Regions from separate parts of the Homo sapiens genome. Here region 1 is linked to region 2. The links are contacts of gene promoters, found by promoter capture Hi-C in human tissues and cell types (Jung and others, 2019). All regions are on one chromosome and are shown on one strand. Each heading gives the region's core, a stretch centred on a gene start or on the middle of the fragment in contact. The rest is flanking DNA. Distances are from core to core; before and after follow the strand shown.

Region 1 (3,050 bases), core at 63-2,562, 150 kb before region 2:
TTCGTTTTTGGGGTTTTGTGTTTTCTTTAGACATAGGGTCTTGCTCTGCCACCCAGGCTGGGGTGCAGTGGCACAATCACGGCTCACTGCCACCTCAAACTCCTGGGCTCCAGTGATCCTCCCACCTCAGCTTCCCAAGTAGCTGGGACTACAGATGCGCATCATTGCACCCAGCTACATTTTTTTTTTTTTTCTGAGATGGAGTCTTGCGCTGTTGCCCAGGCTGGAGTGCAGTGGCGCGATCTTGGCTCACTGCAAGCTCCGCCTCCCGGGTTCACGCCATTCCCCTGCCTCAGCCTCCCGAGTGGCTGGGACTACAGGCACCCACCACCATGCCTGGCTAATTTTTGTATTTTTAGTAGAGACAGGGTTTCACTGTGTTAGCCAGGATGATCTCGATCTCCTGACCTCATGATCCGCCTGACTCAGCCTCCCAAAGTGCTGGGATTACAGGCGTGAGCCACCACGCCCGGCCGCACCCAGCTAAATTTTTAAAACTTTTGTAGAGATGGGGTCTCACTATGTTGCCGGGGCTGGTATCAAACTCCCAGGCTCAAGCAATCCTTCTGCCTTGACCTCCCAAAGTGCTGGGATTACAGGCATGAGCCGCTGCACCTGGCCTTCATTTAGTTTCTTTCTTTCTTCCTTTCTTTCTTTTTTTAGATGGAGTCTCGCTCTGTCAGCCAGGCTGGAGGGCAGTGGCGTGATCTTGGCTCACTGCAACCTCCGCCTCCCAGGTTCAAGCGATTCTCCTGCCTCGGCCTCCCAAAGTGCTGGGATTACAGGCATGAGCCGCTGTGCTGACGTTCATTTGGTTTCTATAATCACCAAAGCCCATCTGGTCTCATGGCCCTTGCAGATGAATATCCTCCCTTAGAACACATCTTCCCCAAGAGTTCACCCTGCTGGCAACTTCTCATCCATTAGGCCTCAGCTTTAATGTATCATCTTCAGGGATGCTTTCACTGTCCCTCCCCTCCAGTGTAATCTAGATCCCTGTCTCTATTACCCAGCACTGTCAACAGATAGAAATGTTCCCTATCTGTCCTGTCCAATATTACAGCCACCACTGTATGTGGTCAGTGAGCACTTGAAATGTGAACTGAATTTTAAGATTCGATTTAATATTAATTTATTTAAATGTAAACAACCACATGTGGCCAGTGGCTACCAGATTGGGTAGTGTAGCTCTAAATTGTAAATTCTGGCTGGGCACAGTGGCTCACACCTGTAATCCCAGCACTTTTGGAGGCGGAGGCGGGAGGGTCGCCTGAGGCCAGGAGTTTGAGACAAGCCTAGGCAACATAGCAAGACTCCGTCTCAAAAAAAATTTTTTAGTAATAATAATAGTAATAACTTGTAAGTTCTGGCCAGGTACAGTGGCTCACACCTGTACTCCGAGAACATTGGGAGGCTGAGGCAGGCAGATTGCTTGATCCCAGGAGTTTGAGACCAGCCTGAGTAATGTGTCAAAACCCCATCTCTACAAAAAACAGAAAAATTGGCTAGGCATGGTGGTGCACGCCTGTAGTCCCAGCTACTCAGGAGGCTGATGTGGAAGAATCTCTTGAGCCGGGGTGGTCGAGGCTGCAGTGAGCTACAATTGCGCCACTGCACTCCAGCCTGGGCAACAAACTGAGACCCTGTATCAAAAATAAATAAATAAGTTGTAACTTTTGTGAGAGCAAGGACAGTTTCATCTTACATAGTTTTACCCAGCACCCAGCACGGTGCCTGGCCAGAAATGGGACTCATGGGGAGTTGAAAGTTGGGGTTTCTCTCAAGCCCTCGAAAACCATCCCCCTCCAAATGCCATTCAGACGCCTGACCACAAGGTGGCTCCATGACATCTCTGGCTCGGAGTGGAAGTCCTGGGGAGGTCATTCAAGGAAGTGGAGATCCAAGCACTAATTTTCTTGGTCTCTGTGTCTCTGGTCTTCTCCTAAGTCCTGGAGCTTGAAAATCTGCCGCAGAATGGCCGCCAGTGTTACAGCTGCAAGGGGAACAGCACCCATGGATGCTCCTCTGAAGAGACTTTCCTCATTGACTGCCGAGGCCCCATGAATCAATGTCTGGTAGCCACCGGCACTCACGGTGAGGCCCTCTCCGAGGCTGGGAGGGAACACTTATTGGGGGTGGAGAGTTCCGCAAGAGATTGACTTCCAGTTAAGCTGGAGTTAACTGTGGTGGGTCTCCCTGTGGAAAAGGTGGGATTTCCTTCAGGTGGGTGAATATTATTGTAAGGAATTAGGACTTGTCCATCAGGATGTGGACATTTTTGCCATGGAAAAGTGGAATTCCGGCTGGGTGCGGTGGCTGAAGCTTGTACTCTCAGCACTTTGGGAGGCTGAGGCCGGAGGATCTCTTGAGGCCAGGAGTTTGAGACCAGCCTGGGCAACATAGCAAGACCCCCATCTCTACAAAAAGAAAAATGGAATTCTTTGGTGGATTTCTCGTGGGTTGTGGGGATTTGCTGAAGACATCTTGGGCTTTCATCCTGTGGTGTCCTGGAAAGGTCTCTGTATTCCAGTGGTTCTCAAACTTTTTGGTCTCAACTTCTTCATGCTTTTAAAAATTATTTTTGGCCAGGTGTGGTGGCTCACGCCTGTAATTGCAACACCTTGGGAGGGTGAGGAGGAGAACCACTTGAGGTCAGGAGTATGAGAGCAAGCCTGGCCACCATGGTGAAACCCTGTCTCTACAAAAAATTACAAAAATTAGCTGGGTGTGGTGGCGTGCACCTATAACCCCAGCTACTCAGGGGGCTGAGGCACGAGAATCACTTGAACCCAGGAGGAGGAGGTTGCAGTGAGTGGGGATCACCCCACTGCACTCCAGCCTGGATGACAGAGGGAGACTTTGTCTCAAAAAAAAAAAAAAACTCTTTATTGTTTATATCAGTGATTTCTATAGATAAATGCCACATTAAAATTAAAACTGAGAACCAGGAGTGGTGGCTCACGCCTGTAATCCTAGCACTTTGGGAGGCCGAGGTGGGTAGATCACCTGAGGTCGGGAGTTCAAGACCAGCCTGACCAACATGGTGAAAC
Region 2 (2,909 bases), core at 371-2,870:
ACCAGCCTCGGCCTCCCAAAGTGCTGGGATTACAGGTGTGAGCCACCGCGCCCAGCCCGGGAGCCCACAAGATTTCTAACTCACAAGATCAAAAACAAACACAGCTATCTGGGGCAGGTCTTCTCATCACCTTGGATTAGAACACCGGCTTGCTTTTGAGCCACTTCCCACTTAGCCCTGGGGTAAGTTACTTCACTTCTCTAGGCCTCAGTTTTCTTATCTCTAAAATGGAAGGAATAATAATGGGGTGTTGTGATGCTCTGATGAGTCAATGTGTGTGAGTGCCTGGCACATGGCCTATCAGTGTTCACCATTAAAGTTACTATCATTTAGAATGATCTTTTGGGTACTTCCTGGCTTGTAGTGACAGTATACGCAATGGTTAAGAACATGGACTTTTGAGAGAATGAAGCCTGCATTTTACCACTTACAACATGTGTAGATGTTGGCTACATTTTTTTTTTTTTTTCTGAGATGGGGTCTTACTCTGTCGCCCAGGCTGGAGTGCAGTGGCACATTCAAGACTCACTGCAGCCTCGACCTCCTGGGCTCGAGATATCCTCCTGCCTCAGCCTCTGGAGTAGCTGAGATGACAGGTGTGTGCCACCACGCCTGGCATAATTTTTGTATTTTTAGTAGAGATGGGGTTTCTCCATGTTGCCCAGGCTGGCCTTGAACTCCTGATCTCAAGCAATCCACCTGCCTCGGCTTCCCAAAGTGCTGGGATTACAGGCCTGAGCCTCTGTGCCCAGCCAACCTTGGGTGCATTTGTCCTCCTCAGCTTGTATCCCCAAGTGTAAAATGGAGATAGTAGGCCAGGAGCGGTGGCTCACGCCTGTAATCTCAACACTTTGGGAGGCTGAGGCAGGCAGGTTGTTTGAGCCCAGGAGTTCAAGATCAGCCTGGGCAACCTGGAGAAACCCAGTCTCTACTAAAAAAAAAGAAATGGAGGTAGTAATCACTTTCTCGCTGGACAGCTTTGAGGGTGAAATTAAATGACTGGGTATAAAGTGTTTCACACAGCTCTTGACTTCTAATCATCCCTTTTCATATACCAGTTATTTTCCTGTTTTCATTTTCCTGTTTTCGCCCAGAGAGGAAAGGGTCTGGCTGAGACCTTTAACCTCTGCCCTCCACCCCATAGCAAAGTTGTGGGGGGGTGGCGGTACACTTCCCTCAGTCTCTGGGCAGGTGTCTGACTCAGTTCAGGGCACCCCTTCCCCTTGTCCAGCTCCCCAAACCGGTCAGGGCCCTTCTGAAGGGCTCATTAGAGGGGAGACGTCCCCATCTCCATTCCTGCCTTCCTTTCTGAACTCCCAAGGTCTGGACATTAGAGAGGCTCCCATACAGAGGTGGCCAAGACTCCTCCAGGGGGGCAGGAATGAGGGGCTCGAGGGAGACTGGGAGGTCGCGATGCTGAGTTCCACGAGGGTGGGGCCGGGCCGGGGCCGGTGGGGCCGGGATGGCCGGATGCCGAGGCCACGGGTGGGGCAAGCCCGTGGCTCCCTCCTCCCTCGGGAGCTGTTGGACCTGTTGTCCCCCCTCCACTTCCGGGCTGCTGGGGAGGGGGACCGGGCGGCCTCTCTCCTCCCTCTTCCCCTGCCACCTGTCTCATAGGCAGAAGCGGCCGTGCCCAGCGCGCAGAGCGGAGCGCGCCGAAGCCTGAGCTCGTGAGGGGGCCGAGGCTGTGGGGAGGTGGCAGTTGGACTTCGGAATCTCAAGGACTCCGACTCCTGGCTTGTTCAGAGAAGGAGAGCCCCGACTCCTGGATCCCTGGGTGAGGCGGCGTGGGCACGGTTGCCCTGCACAGTGGGGTCGGGACTAAGACTACGGGGCTCCGGGAAGGATGGGGCGGGAGCCGAACTGCTGAGTCTCGGAGGGAGAAGATGGGTCGCTCTAAGCGAATCCAAGAGATTGTAGGGGGCTGCTGGGAGGGTACAAGGCCTGACACCTAGAGATGAGGGAGGGGAGGCGGGGTCGAAGAGGTCAGTAGGGGGCGTGCTACGACCCGGACTCAAATTCCGGTCCCGTCTCCGGTGGCGTGTCGCCTTGGAGCCATCAAGCCCCGCCTCTGGAAACTTCAGGACACGCCTCCGTAACGCTCAGTTCCATCCTTTGAACTCTTAGGCCCCGCCTCCTTGGGGGGGGGTCTCCGCGCCCCGGAGCAGACGCGAGCGGCGCTCAGCCGTCCTAGGCCCCGCCCCCGGAGCTTCTGGTCCCGCCCACCCCGCAGGAGTCCCAGCGGCCATGGGGACGCGAAGCAGCCCCGAGGAGGGGACCCCGCCGCCGCTGGTCCCGGAATGCGACGTGGAGGTCCAGCCCCAGGGCCATCCCGAGGAGTCCCGGGAACAGGAGGCATCCGAAGTCCTGGCGGAACCTTCGAGCCGCGGGGGAGCTGAGCAGCAGGCAGAGGAAGAAGAAGTGGGAGAAGGCAGCAGCACTGAGAGCAGCCGCGACGCGGTGAGGGGCCCGAGGGCGACAGCGCGGGGGGCTTGGACCGACGGGGACCCAAACAGGTGGCCAGACAGGTAGACAGGTAGAGGGAAACCAGAAAGACAGAGACCCGGAGACAGGGAGAGAGACCGAGTGATAGCAGAGACTACTGAGAGAGAGATACACCAGGACACGGAGCCAGAGAGGCAGAGGCACAGACAGACAGAAACCAGATACAGAGACAGAAACCAGATAGAGCCACGGGGAGGCCCCAAGAACGGAGATAGACCCAAACGGGCGACAGAGACAGAGAGACTAGTATAGAGGAACCAGATAGGTGGCTCACGCCTGTAATCCCAGCACTTGGGGAGGCCGAGGGGAGGATTGCTTAAGCCCAGGAGTTCGAGACAAGTCTGGGCAACATAGCAAATCCCTGTCTCTAGAGAAAAAAAAAATACAAAAATTGTCCAAGCGCA

The links. Contacts are between HindIII fragments. The study calls those that stand out against the background at their distance.
Region 1: a contact is called between a fragment that was not itself captured here and the fragment with the promoter of PHLDB3 in region 2, in 1 of the 25 tissues and cell types used here (spleen).

The regions. Positions count from the first base shown.
Region 1 is chr19:43,651,269-43,654,318 of GRCh38, reverse strand. It overlaps PLAUR (plasminogen activator, urokinase receptor), which reads left to right. Exons shown (of 7, transcript NM_002659.4): 6 at 1,948-2,094. Among named protein-coding and RNA genes, the nearest start is that of CADM4, 13 kb to the right of the region's middle. The HindIII fragment of the contact is 8,598 bases long and covers 1-3,050 here.
Region 2 is chr19:43,503,457-43,506,365 of GRCh38, reverse strand. PHLDB3 (pleckstrin homology like domain family B member 3) reads left to right here and starts at 1,620. Exons shown (of 16, transcript NM_198850.4): 1 at 1,620-1,777; 2 at 2,234-2,460. The coding sequence starts at 2,248. RefSeq lists silencers at 1,424-1,483, 2,084-2,333 and an enhancer at 1,962-2,484. The HindIII fragment of the contact is 32,375 bases long and covers 1-2,909 here.